Regions from separate parts of the Homo sapiens genome. Here region 2 is linked to region 1. The links are contacts of gene promoters, found by promoter capture Hi-C in blood cells and fetal thymus (Javierre and others, 2016). All regions are on one chromosome and are shown on one strand. The core of a region is centred on a gene start or on the middle of the fragment in contact, and the rest is flanking DNA. Distances in the headings are between cores, read along the strand shown.

Region 1 (6,544 bases), core at 1,671-4,170:
ACTCAGCCAGTGAAACTATTTTCCCCTCTTTCCCTGGGTGGAAGTGGTCTTGTTCCCACTTTCTGGACTCTCAGCCCCTTGGGTCCAGCCACCCTGGATTAATACCTCCTGGCTGGGCCCTCCTTCAGCCTCGGTCTCCCTGACCCCCAGATATTTCCCTGGGCTTGGTCTACACCACAGCTTCCCGTCTTTCCAGCATCCCAAGACCAGATTCTGTCATTGTAGAAACAATGCATTCATTAAGTTTTAAAATTAAATGTTATCCAACAATAGGAAAGTTGTGAAACATTAAAGAATCCAAAAGAATCATGTTTCACACCTGAATTACCTGAAAGATCATCTCTCTCAAAACCCTCATTTTCCAGCAGAGGAAACTGAAACCCAGGGACTTATCAGAAATCACCTCATGGACAAATGAGAACAGTTGGAGCCACATAGACCAGCCAATGGGCCGCAGTCTATGTGACTCAACCCCAACCCGAAAGATGGTAACAGAGGATCTCATCCCAACAGAAGCAAACTGACAAAACACCTATTTCAGCTGACTTACTGATGGATTGGAATTCAGATGGGTTAATGAACAAGAAAATCTTTTGTGAACCAGAAGTGTTTTAAGCACCTAGAATGTGTAAGTCCCCCTAGCTTTTGCCCCAAATATTATGTCCTTCAATCAACGTGGCCCTGCTCAACTAGCACGCTTCAGTGGTGCCTCTGCTCACTTCTCCCCCTCTTGGCAATAGGACACCCGCATTTTATAGAGAATAACCAAGCCTCAAGAATTTGAACAGGTTTCCCAAGTCCAAACAACTACTTAGCTGTCACCAGAACCTGAGTGTCCCGGTGACAACCTCTTTCCACCACTCTGCAAGGCTTCCAAGCAACTCCAGTAGTCTCTGTGGATGAATCAGAGCACCCAGGCTGACAGCACTGTGCACCTCTGCTTCTGGGATGACGGTGGAACACAGGGACGTCTGGGCCTCTTAGGTCAGGGTCCTCTTGCTCAAGGGACCTAACCACTGCTCTTCACGCTAGCACCAGACCAACACGTGCTGCAAGGACACTGGATGGTCGCTGCACTGAATGCAGCTGCCCAGAGCTTTATCTCATCAGTGGGCACTGAGGACTGATGTCAGCAGCCCTAAGACAAAGCTTCCTTTGGGAGGACAGTAGAAGAGGGGGTGCAGCAACAAGTGGGCCATTGCATGTGTTGTTTATCAACATTCGGATGACGGAGATTTTGGCCAATTTCAGAAAGACACTCATATTTTGTAGAAACACAGTACAGTGCTCTCATGGAGAGAAAAACATCGCACAAATTAGGGTGGAGAAGAATCTGATGCAGTGCCCTTCAGAGACACAGCTGAGTGGGATGATGCAACCCTGAGCTTGGAGCCACCTGATCTAAATTCGAGCCCACACTTAGCCACTTAGGAGCTGTGTAGTCTTGGATAAGTCACTCAAACCCTCTGGTCTCCATTTTCTCACAACAAATCTATTCTCCAAGGCTCAGTTTTCCCATTCTCAAAATGGGATACTATTAACTTGCCTTGCCCACTTCACAAGGGAATACCGTAATGTCATCTGTGGCAGCTCCTTTCTCCCAAACTGTAAAACACCCTCTGTGTTTTAGGGATCACGTGGTAGCATATTCTTTATGGCCTGGCCAGCACAGAGCTAAGGATAGGAAAGTTCTTGTGGAATGGAATTGCAAGCATGAGTTAGTGATAGTCAAAGTACTAGAATTGGATACAATGCAATTATTGCTTACTGCTAGTCTGAGCACTATGCAGTATCTACACAATGATTCTGAAGGCATTTTGGGATCTCAGTGGCTGAACGTCCTTCATTATAAGTTTGCAGTTTGTGAGAGGAAGGAGGAAGAGACAGGATAAAAACTTACTGCTGTTGAAGGTGTGCTGGGTATAAGACCCCATACTCACAACCTCCCCATGAAGGGAGCACTATTATTCCTATATTATACCTGTGGAAACTGAGACCAAGATAGGTTTTTGCTCACCAGCTTTTAAGTGGTAGAGATCAGGTTAGATCACAGATCTCCCTAACTCCACAGACTGAGCTCTACTCCTTTTAACAATGCTTTTTGTAAAAAAAAAAAAAAAAAAAAAAAAAAAAAATTCCACAAGAAAGTGAGATTACACAATATTCTTCTTTTTGTGTCTGGCTTATTTCACTTAGCATAATGTTCTCCAGGTCCAAATAGGACAAACATGGCAAATGGCAGGGTCTCCTCCTATTCTAAAGCTAATATTCAGTTGTATATATACATATAAACCACAGTCCCTTTATCCATTCATCCACTGATGGACACCTAGGCTGTTTCCATAATTCTTTAGTAAATCACAGAACCCTCTTGTTTTCTCTTCTAACTTAGCAAACTTCATTTGATTGAGTCACAACAAAATATTTATCACAAGTAAACAAGAAAGATGGAAAATTTCTGATCAATGATGACCATCCATGTTGCTGATGATGGAACAAAAAGCCAGATTAAACAAGTAAGACAGATAAAATCGTTGATTAGATCCATTGCTTCAACTAGAAAGGGAACATAGGTGAAACATCTACTCTGTACTCTTGTATGTGGGGTTTTAAAAACAAACCTTAATACCAAAATGAAAGACAAGATCAGCAAATATTAGGTGAGAAGTTTAAAAAATTATTGGTATTTTGCATATAGGAAAATAATTTAAAATAAAGTCCCTTTACTTCATTGTACATTTAATTGAATTTGGAGGTTTTTTATAGTAAGAAATGAAAGTTCGATTGAGAAGAGATGCCAGCTTTCACTCACCATTTCTGACAGTCTCCCAGGAACCTTCTTCGTACACTGCCTTTGGTAAGCTCCTTTCTCACTGGCTTTATTGGCTTGTGTCTTTCATTTGTAGGAACAGTTAACTGACAAAGCTGCAGAGGCAGGCTGAGAGGTGGCTCCAAGAGAACCCTGGCCAAGCCATTTATGGTCAGGGGAGTAGCCAAGCCCTCAGTCCATCCCTCGGGAAAGATGGGCTGCTGCTGCATGGCCGACGTGTATGGCCTGGTTCACCCACCCTCTTTGCCTTGATTTTCTGTCCTTACTTTTCAGGCTGCTTTCTTGGCTATACCTCCATCTCAGCAAAGAAGCCACAGCTGGCCTGAGAGCTTGGGGGCTTCTGCAGCCTGCAGCCCTTTGGAAACAATGGGTTACATGAGGCTGAGGCTGGCCACTCCATCCCCAGCTGACGGGAGTCCACATTAACCATGTTACTGATAATGATGGAGTCATTGTGTTACATGGACAACAGCATGGACATTCGGGATGTCTGGAGGAGGGGTGGGGGCCCATTCTGTTGCAGGAGTCACACTGCTGGGGGCTCCAGCTGCTGCAAGGTGCTGCACTCAGTGGCCAATGAGCTGCCTGGTGTGAGTTCAGCCTCACCCCCTCTCTGTTTTTGTATTTTGGGTGGGAAGCTCTCTAGACCTGGAGGAAGCCATGGACTTGGGCTGCTTTATAACTTACAATTTCCCTGTTAGGGATTTGCCTCTTTAAAATGGTGAATGAGTTGCTAATAAAACAACAGAATTAAACCAATAATTTGGCCATTGAAATGAAAACCACTGTGAGAGGAGCAGATAGGAGTGTAAGGAGAGAGCGACTCAAGTGACAGAGGAGGCCGTTGTTTAGATGACTCTGGGAGATGGCACTGAAGCTGTGCGTGAAAGATGAGAAGAGGGCAGACATGTGAAGGGTTGAGGGAGGAGAGTCCCAGGCAGAAGCCACAGCAAATGCTAAGCCCTGTAAGCTTGGTGCACTCCCAGAGCAGGCAGGAGGCCGGTTGGCTGGAACAACATAAACCAGGGAGTCACCCGGGAAGGGGCTAAGGACGGAGTGAGTTTGAGCCCTTTTGATGTGACATGGGAGGGCATGGTAAGATTTTCATCCTTAGATGAAACCTTTTCCAAGGGTTTTTCAGTGGGAGAGATGCATGATGTAATTGCTGGTGACGAGGATTGCTAGGGCTTCTCTGTGGAGCCAAGATTACAGGGGAAGAGAGTGGAAGCAGGTGGCTGGCTAGTGGAGTCCAGGTGAGCGATGAAGGTGGCTGCTGTAGGAAGACAGCAGTGAATGATTGTGCTCTCTACTGTGGAGGTGGAGCCACTGGGATTAAATGATGAAAAAAATATGGGGCGGGGAAGGGCGAGGTGAGGGAAAGAGAAGAATAAAGCCAACTCCTGGGTTTGAGGCTTGACTAACAAAAATGGAGATGCTATTAGCTTAGGCAGGTAATACTGGAGAAACAGATTGCCCTTACACCTGAGTAGCCTAGGGGCTGTCCAAGTGTGGGTGCCAAGTAGGCGACTGGATAAAGGGGATCTGGGGCTGAAGACATCCGTTTGGGAGTGGCCGGCCTGTGGATGGTTTTAAAGCCCCCGGTGTGCATGAGCAGGTAGACAGGGCAGAGGGCCAGGACAGCTGCCAGGGGTTCACAGACATTTAGCAGCCTGGAAGAGGGGGTGTCACTAGCAAGGAGAGTTGAGTGAGGCAGGAAAATCAGATAAGTTCGGGGGTCACAGGAAAGAAATTTGATTCAAGAAGGGGAGTAGATGTTGGTTAATTGTATCAACTGCTGCTGAGAGGTAGCCTCCGAAGAGGTCAGAAGAGCCTTCTGATTCCCAGTATCGGGGTTGCTGGTGGCCTTGACAAGAGCAGTTTAGTGGCACAGTGGAGACCAGATTGCCTTTAATCAGGTGGTTTTTCCATCCTGGTTGCATACCTGAATTACCTAGGGAGTGGTAGGGGGCTGGTTATAAAAACTCTTGATGCCTAGAACCTGCCCCCAGAGACTCTGACTTGATTGATCAGAGTGAGGCAGGGGCATCCCCAGGGGACGCTAACGAGCAGTCAGGGGTGACAGCTGCTGTTCTAATCAGTTCTTAGACTGTGGTAATCAGCCACCTGCAACATGGCCGACACTGATGCTATCCTAAACAAGACCAATGAGGCCTCTGCCTTGTGGGCTTCCAGTTTCCAAGACTCCACAGTGACAGCCTAAACTGAACCTACTGGTGACAACATGGTCTAGAGAGACCTCTGTTTAGAGCCACAGCTGCCCTACTGGAAGCTGCATGGTCTTAGGCAAGTGAAATAACTTCTTCCAGTCTGAGTCTTTTAATCTACAAAGCAGGGATGATACAATTTATGCAATTAGACTACTTGAATCAGCACAGCTCGTACAAATGATGCTTTTAATTTTCCTTGACTGGCGTAGAATCAACCTGGACCATAGAATTCCAGTTTATGGCCCCAGCACTCTCTGGCAAGGCTGTTTGTGGATGGGGAGGGCCACTGAGGTCCTTTTTGGCACTTTTGTTTGCTGTGCATCCACTGATCCATAACTCTGCCTTCTGATGGACACATTATCTCTTTAGAAGAATTGTTGACATCTTCAGGCAATTGGTACCCCTGCCTAAGTGTCCATCAGTCATGACTGCCCAGTCACAAGCATCAAAACCAGACTCTGCTTAATTTTTTGAAAAGGAAAATTTGGCCGGGCACAGTGGCTCACGCCTGTAATCCCAACACTTTGAGAGGCCTAGGCGGGTGGATCACCTGAGGTCAGGAGTTCGAGAACAGCCTGGCCAACATGGCGAAACCCCATCTCTACTAAAAATACAAAAATTATCTGGGCATGGTGGCACATGCCTGTAATCCCAGCTACTCGGGAGGCTGAGGCAGGAGAATCGCTTGAACCTGGGAGGCGGAGGTTGCAGTGAGCCAAGATCATGCCATTGCACTCCAGCCTGGGCGACAGAGCAAGACTCCATCTCAAAATACAATACAATACAATACAATACAATACAATACAATACAGTACAGTACAGTACAGTACAGTACAGTACAATACAATACAATACAATACAATACAATACAATACAATACAATACAATACAATACAGAAAAGGAGAACTTACTGACTGAGTATAGTGGAGCTCTCAGAAAGGACAGAGGGCTAGAGAACCAGGCTCTGGAAGGACAGAGTGAGGTTGCTCCCAAACCTTCAGCAGCAGCAACTCCCAGACGGTCTTTCAGAGGTGTCCTTCCAGGGAAACTGAGCTCCAAAATATCTCAGCCCTTTTGCCTCTCTGATCAGGACTCCAGTCCCAGGAAGAGGATTTGGTTGGTCTGGCTTGGTTCATATGGCCAAGGATGATGTACCACCTGGCTAACAGTCCCCCCAGTGAGGGTCCCTCCAATGGAAGAAGAGGTGGTTCTGCAAAATGAATTTGGCATTGTTACCTAAAGGAGAAGGAATGGATGAAGTGAGTAAGCTCTCCTTCTTTGGAAGTCGGGCCTGAGAATCATCTCCTTAGAAACCATAGATGGAATGCCCTTAGTGGGTGAAAGATTGGGGCCACCAACTCTGAGAATCTCGGATCATTTATATTTTGTCACCATTTAAATTTGTACAAGCCCAATCACATGGATGGTCTTCCCTGTAACAACCGGTCAGCTTAAAAAACTGGACCATTCTAAATGACAGGTGGC
Region 2 (6,544 bases), core at 1,222-3,721, 720 kb after region 1:
TCCCAAGTAGCTGGGACTAAAGGCACGGGCACTGTGCCCAGCTCTGACCATCTTTCAGGCTTTGTTCTGGGGCACCAAAGCTTAAAGAGGAAAGACACAGCCCCCAGGCAGGCAGGCAGCAGGTGATGCCAACGGCCATCAAGAGATAAGAGATGGCCCAAAGCTGGGTGTGGAACTGTCCCACCCTGGCCAGTCAGCCCACAGCCGGAACCAGCCCTCATCGTTTAAATGAAGACAGGAAAGTGAATTTGGGGCCCCAGGAGAGGCCAGAGGAAAACAGGTGAACCTTGGAAGCCTCAGGAAAATGCAGCCTGATGGCAGCAAAGCGGGTGGTAGAAGGAGCCTGCACCTGTAGAGAGAAGGACCAGGTTCAACTCCTGCTTCTGCTATTGACCAACCATGGACCTCGAGAAGTTCTGCACCTGAGAGCTTCAGGTGTCCTATTTGTAAAATAACTACCACGTGGGACTTTGGAGAAGATTGTGAATTGATGTACTTAAGCTTCTGAATCACAACCTCCATTTAGCAGCATTCAAGAAATGCGGGCTGTTGTCCCTGCCCGAAGCACAGCCTAAGCAACCCTAAGGCTCTGTTGTTTCAAGCTTTCCCACGAGGGGGCGCCAGAAGCCTTCCCTGGACCTGGATGCCTCAACCACATCGCAAACTAGCAGAACAAAGCTATTCTCTTTTTTTTTCTTTTTGCTCCAACTGACTTCCTACCTTGCCAATACTTGTCTCATCTTTCCCAAATCCCTTTGAAATAAAGTTTATCATGTCTTCTGCCCCTGGTCTGTGTGGAAACCCCCCAAAAGCACCACCTAAGCCTTTCCCCATCAGTTTTCCGGGAGCTCTGGGCCACCTTCATCTTCCTCAGACCCAGTCATTGCTGCCCGTCCTCCTCCCACGCGGCCTTGTCAAACGCCCTGAAGTGAGGAGATGGCCAGGATGTGTCTGGGCAGAATGAGACACCCTGAGAACTGCCGTCCTGGAAGCGGGCGGGATCTGCGACTGGAAGGACAAACAGCCAAGCCCAGGGCAGCCAGGGCCTGTCCCAGCCCGGGGAAGCGGAGCCAGACAGGGGTTCAGAAGGAGGGCAGGGGCAGGACAGTGACGAGGGCACCATGACAGATCCCCAGAGTCAGACCCAGGACAGCGCTGGGGAGATACAGGGCTGGGGCAGAAGCTGAAGGGCGGGACAAGGTCCCAGACTTCTGACAAGCACCTGGGGGATGCGGGGATGCTGGTCCAGGGAGCACTCACGGAGAGGCCAGGGTGCTGAGGACAAAGCCCACAGCTGGGTGTCACAGGGGAGACTTGGCTCCACTCACTTAAATCGTGTGGTCTCGGGCAAGTCATGTAACCTCTCTGGCCCCAGTTTTCTCATCTGCAACATGGGGATGGAAAGCGGCACTTATGTTGCAGGATCTGATGGGAGAGGTGCCGCTGCCTACTCCCTCACCTCTGCTGACATTCCTCCAGTTTCCCAGACCCCTCCTGACATCCACAGGACCTGTGTACTTGCTGTGGCTTCTGCCTGGGATACTCTTCCCTCACCTTCACCCAGGAAACGCTATTTATCCTTCACACCTCAGTCTACAAACACCTCCCCTGAGCCTGAGTCAGCTGCTCTATCTGCAACAGGCTCCTAGCACCCCCACTTTTACTTTTCGGCACAACCCAGGCTTGTAATAAAATACAGGTGCACCGAATGTGATGAAGTACTGACTCTGGTGAACGTCCATCTCCCTCTCCAGACCATAACCTCCCAGCAGACACTCTCCTTCACTTTCCCTTATATCCTGGCACATTGCAGAGACTTAGTAATTTTTAGCTGAATGAACTAAAATGGATCCTTACATGAGTCCTCTGCTCTAATCCCTCTCCGTTTTCCCGGCCAAAACAAGTAGTTAGGACTGGCCAAGGGAGAGGCAGGAGCTCAGGGCCAGACAGGCTGGCTGTGCATGGCGAGAGACCACAGCTCCCCACCTATGCTGCGGCCACTTGTACCTGCTCTGCCTAACCAGGCTGCAGACCCAGTGAGATGCAGGCTCAGAAGGGGAAGGCAGGCACGAGCAAGCACTTGTTATTGTGGATGATGTAACAATCGCACCTCTTCCCTTCACACATCCTTCAGGATATTAACAACCAACACCCTCAAGTGGTTCCAAGTTCACACCAGCTCAAGGCAAGGGCCCTGCAGACAAAGCATGAACCCCATTGCCAAGATCAAGCACCCCAGGAGGCAAGCTCCACCAAGAGCAGCCCCCACTTGGCCTGGAAGCATCGGGCAACCCCAGTCGGCCGCCCGCCCCTGAAGACAAGGGGGCCGCCAGGCCCACACCCTGACTTGGCACCATCCCCAGGCACCCTGCTCTGGCTGCCCCTCCTTCTGCACACTCTGCCAATCCCCCCATCCTCTCCCAGGGCTGGAGGAGGCAGGGGTTGGGGAAGCTGAGGTCAAGACCCCATGTTCTGGCTGCTAATCTGCCTTCACGCTCTAACCTGATTGGTCCCTGCTGGCAGACCAGCCTCTAAGGGGATTAGCAGTGGGGGCAGGGGTGGGAGTACACAGAGGGCTGCTGGGCACCTGCCAAGGCTGGACTGGGCTCTGGGTTCTTGCTGCCCACTCGGGCGCCACTGCAGGGCACAGGCCTTACTTTGTCTGCCTTTCATGCCACATGGAAGCTCTGGGCAGCCTGGCCTGTCCCCTCGGCCCCCTGCAGCCCGAGTGGTTACCTTGAACCAGGGCACCCCAAGGGTACCAGGGCACCTCATCTGGGGGCTTAGATCCTTGTCAGAAGATGGTTGGATTAAGGACTCAGGCTCTGGCCTCATGCACATCTTCTAACCCCCAAGCCTCAGTCTTCTCATGGTAAAATGGGAATAATTATCATATGGCTTAACCACAGCTGAGTGTGGGGCCTCAGCCAGGACTGGCAGAGTTGGCTGCCATTGCCCACACTTTAATAATTGCCTTTTGGGCTCTGTAGGGAGGAGGAGGGAGGGTCAGGGCCTGGGAGTCAGGAGGCTGAGGCTCAAGGCCGCCAACCCACTCCATGACCTCTGGCAGGACCACAGTTAGTTCCCAACATCTGCAACAATACTGACCTCCCAGGGATGCTGGGAGGATGGGATTACATGCTGTGTGTGTCACACACTCAGCGTGCCCACTGGTAGCTGGTGCCAGCACGGGGCAGCCTCACACGACTGTTATCAATAAGTGGCTGCCCGGGATTCCACTGCAGATAACTCAGCAAGTGAGTCCCTGGCACCTGGTGGATTGGCAGCATCGTCATCCCCGGGAAGTTTGATAGAAAAGCAGATTTTCTGGGTCCCACCTCCTGAGTCAGGATCCCTCAGTGTCTCAGGTGCACACTGAAGTCTGAGAAGTGCTGCCTCCAGCAGAGGAAAGGTGTAAAATGTTTTAATGTCCCCAGCTGGAGCCAAAGCAAACCAGATTATAACCTCTGTACTGGTTAGCATTTCAAAGCAAGGGTTGGAGGTGCCAACTCCTATTCTTTGGGGGCTGAGGTGGGGAGACTTAGACACAGACACCCCTAGTGAGTGGAGAGAGGGAAGAGCAGCTACCAACCCCTCAGCTGCAGCTCACCAAGGCCCGCCTTCCTGAGGAACAGAAAAGGCACCCACAGGGCTGGTGGGGGGCAGGGACCAGCCACTACATTTGTCCCACAGGCCCTTCCTGCATTTCTGCCAATTTGCATGGAAGATGCCTGAGGGCACGGGTGAGGAGCAGGTGTGGGGCTCCCTGGTGAATCAGCTCCAGCACTCACAGCAGAGGAAGACTTGGCATCTCCAGCATTGCCAGGAGGTCAGGAGTCCCAGCCCTGGCTCCCTGCTCAGGCCAGGGAATGGGAGACAGACTCCTAAGGACTGTCTGTGCTCCAGGGCCCTGCTGCAGGATGGCTTGGCAGGAGGGAGGCTATCAATACCCATGGGTGGGACGCTGGGATGCACATGCTGCTCAGAGATGCTCCTGGGATCTCGCTGGACCATCCCGCCTTTGTCTCTGCCGGTTCTTCACACCTCCCTTTAGATCCTATGCCTCCCACGTAGAAGGGGAATTAATTCTGCAAGTACCCCTCCCTGCCTGCTCTCTCCAGCCCATGAAACAACACTCAAGTGCCCCAGATCTACCCTGTGTGCATACTGCATGTGTGCACGCCTGTCTCCAGGTCAGGGACTAGGTCTAATTCACCTTCAAGGTGGGTTCTGGAGAGCATTCGATGATAAGAACCTGCATTGTGCTGCCTTGGGCCTCAACCCAGAGGCCAGGGCTTTGTCCACTCACAAACCTCAGGTGCTCCCAGAAGATGCAAGTAGAAAGCTTATCAGTCAGCTAATTCTCAGTGTGAATCTGTTTGTTTCATCTTCTCCAGAAGTTCAAGCTCAGGTAGGGGCCAGGGCCAGGGTGCAAAGCAGACCCAGCAGTGGTGTCAAAGAGACCACACTGGTGCAGTGAAGGGGGAGTGGGTCCCGCCTGCCACAAGCCCAGTTTCCTTTAATCTGGTCCTCTACTTCTCTGTCTTGTGAAAATACAGGACGGAACCGGGGGCCGTGGCTCACACCTATAATTTCAGCACTTTGGCAGGCTGAGGTGGGAGGATGGCTTGAGGCCAGTTTGAGATCATCATGGGCAACATAGTGAGTGAGAGCCCATCTCTCCAAACAGCTAACAAAATCAGCGAGACATGGTGATGTCTGCCTGTAGTCCTAGCTACTCGGAGGCTAAGGCAGGAGGATTGTTTGAGCCTAAGAGTTCAAGGTTACAGTGAGCTATGATCATGACACTGCACTCCAACTTGGGTGACAGAGTGAGACTCCATCTCTTAAAAAAAAAAATCACACAGGACAGGATAGATCCTGGGAGCTGCCTTTGCCACCTCCACTAGGCTTGGCTGCGGTCCTTTGAGTGGCAAGTTCCCCTTCCTAATCCTGGGTGCTCTCCTGCTCCCCTTCTCTGCAACCCTGACTGCCTTGAGCCAGACCAGCTGGAGCAGATGGCAGGGTCATCAGATCAGCGAGTTTCCCTAAAGGAAGTCTCAGGGCGCAGTAGCTAGTCTGGGAGCAGAGCCCTGCAGCCTGGATTCAAAACGAAGCTCAGCACCAACTGATGCCTCTTTGGGCCTCAGTTTCCTTTTCTGTAACATAAGTTTGTAAGAGGAGACTGGCACACGGTGGGTGACAATCAGTTGTATTGTCCGTGAGGCTTCCAACTGCCGCTACTAAATCCTGAGTGGTACAGCTCTGTGACTCTGACTGAAGAAATGACTGCTCCCTCTCCTTTACCACCTCTTCCACTCCTAAGAGAATGATAAGATTCACGGAATTAAAGCTCACACATGCTCTGTGAGGTCTGGAGATTTTTTTTCAATTATCGAACTACAGTCTGGGCACAGTGGCTCATGCTTGTAATCCCAGCACTTTGGGAGGCCGAAGCAAGAGGATCACTGGAGCCTAGGAATTTGAGGCAACCTGGGCAACATAGCAAGACCTGGTCTCCACAAAAATGTTTTTAAATAATTAGCCAGGTGTGTTAGTGTGTCTGTGGTCTCAGCTACTCAGGAGGCTGAGTTGGGAGGATTGTCAAGCCAAGGAGGTGGAAGCTGCAGTAAGCTGTGATCATGCCACTTCACTCCAGTCTGGGCAACAGAGTGAGACCCTATCTCAAAAATTTAAAAAATAAATAAATAAAATAAAATGTGGAACAGCCAACATGGTCCCAGGGAATTCCTGATGTCCAAGTTCCTGCAGGTGGTTTGGGGGCCTGACACTGTGGATGGTGGGGTCTGAGCTCTGCCCTTATTCATCCCACCCACATTTACTGAGCACCCAACATGTGCCAGGTCCCATCAGCTGGAGAGGTGCGCCCCTTCCCTGCCCACCGCGAAGCCACAAACCCTCCTGTGGCAGCCCCCTCCTTCTCCCTCCACCACCACCAGAGTTAATGTTGCAGAAACCTCATCAGGCAGAGACATTAAGCAGCCTTGAATGGCCGCAACATAAAAGCACCCAGGGTAACATTTCCTTGAACCCGGCTGTTTGCTATGCAGCTACTGAGCATGCGTTCCCCCAACAGAGATATCAGGGGCACATCCCACAAGGCAGCCCTGCTTTGAAGTGAAAGTTCAGCCCTGCCAAGGAACAGCAGCTCAGAGGCTAGAGTCCCACTAAGCAGTGAGAGGCTCAGGGGCACACAGAAGACACAACTAGCTTCGTCCTCTTCAACTCTACCTACTGCAAGTGGCAGACATGAGTCCCAGCCACTAAGGCAAGGGCACAGCAGCAGGCAACGAGGGTGAATGAAGCAGGCAGAGGAATGCAGGCCCCTCTGCATGTGAACACCAGGGCGAGGCCTCCGGGCTTACTCAACACCAGGTGCTGGGCGCGGAGACCTTGGAGGCCCCTGGTGACCTGCTAGTCCTGGGCGGGAATGCACCGGGGAGTATGAGAGGCAAGGCTCCTGTCCCAGGCACCTACAAGGAACAGTTAGGACCAGCGACTTCAGAAGTTCCCAGGCCAGACA

The links. The method cuts DNA at HindIII sites, captures the fragments that hold promoters and counts their contacts. A CHiCAGO score of 5 or more calls a contact.
Region 2: a fragment that was not itself captured here is called in contact with the fragment with the promoter of OPALIN in region 1 in 1 of 17 cell types (neutrophils); the score reaches 5.7 in neutrophils.

What each region holds. Positions count from the first base shown.
Region 1 is chr10:96,356,082-96,362,625 of GRCh38, forward strand. OPALIN (oligodendrocytic myelin paranodal and inner loop protein) reads right to left here and starts at 2,921. Exons shown (of 6, transcript NM_033207.5): 1 at 2,813-2,921. The coding sequence starts at 2,815. The HindIII fragment of the contact is 2,651 bases long and covers 1,148-3,798 here.
Region 2 is chr10:97,072,420-97,078,963 of GRCh38, forward strand. All of the region lies in intron 4 of SLIT1 (slit guidance ligand 1), which reads right to left. Among named protein-coding and RNA genes, the nearest start is that of SLIT1-AS1, 27 kb to the right of the region's middle. RefSeq lists a silencer at 413-707. The HindIII fragment of the contact is 3,743 bases long and covers 601-4,343 here.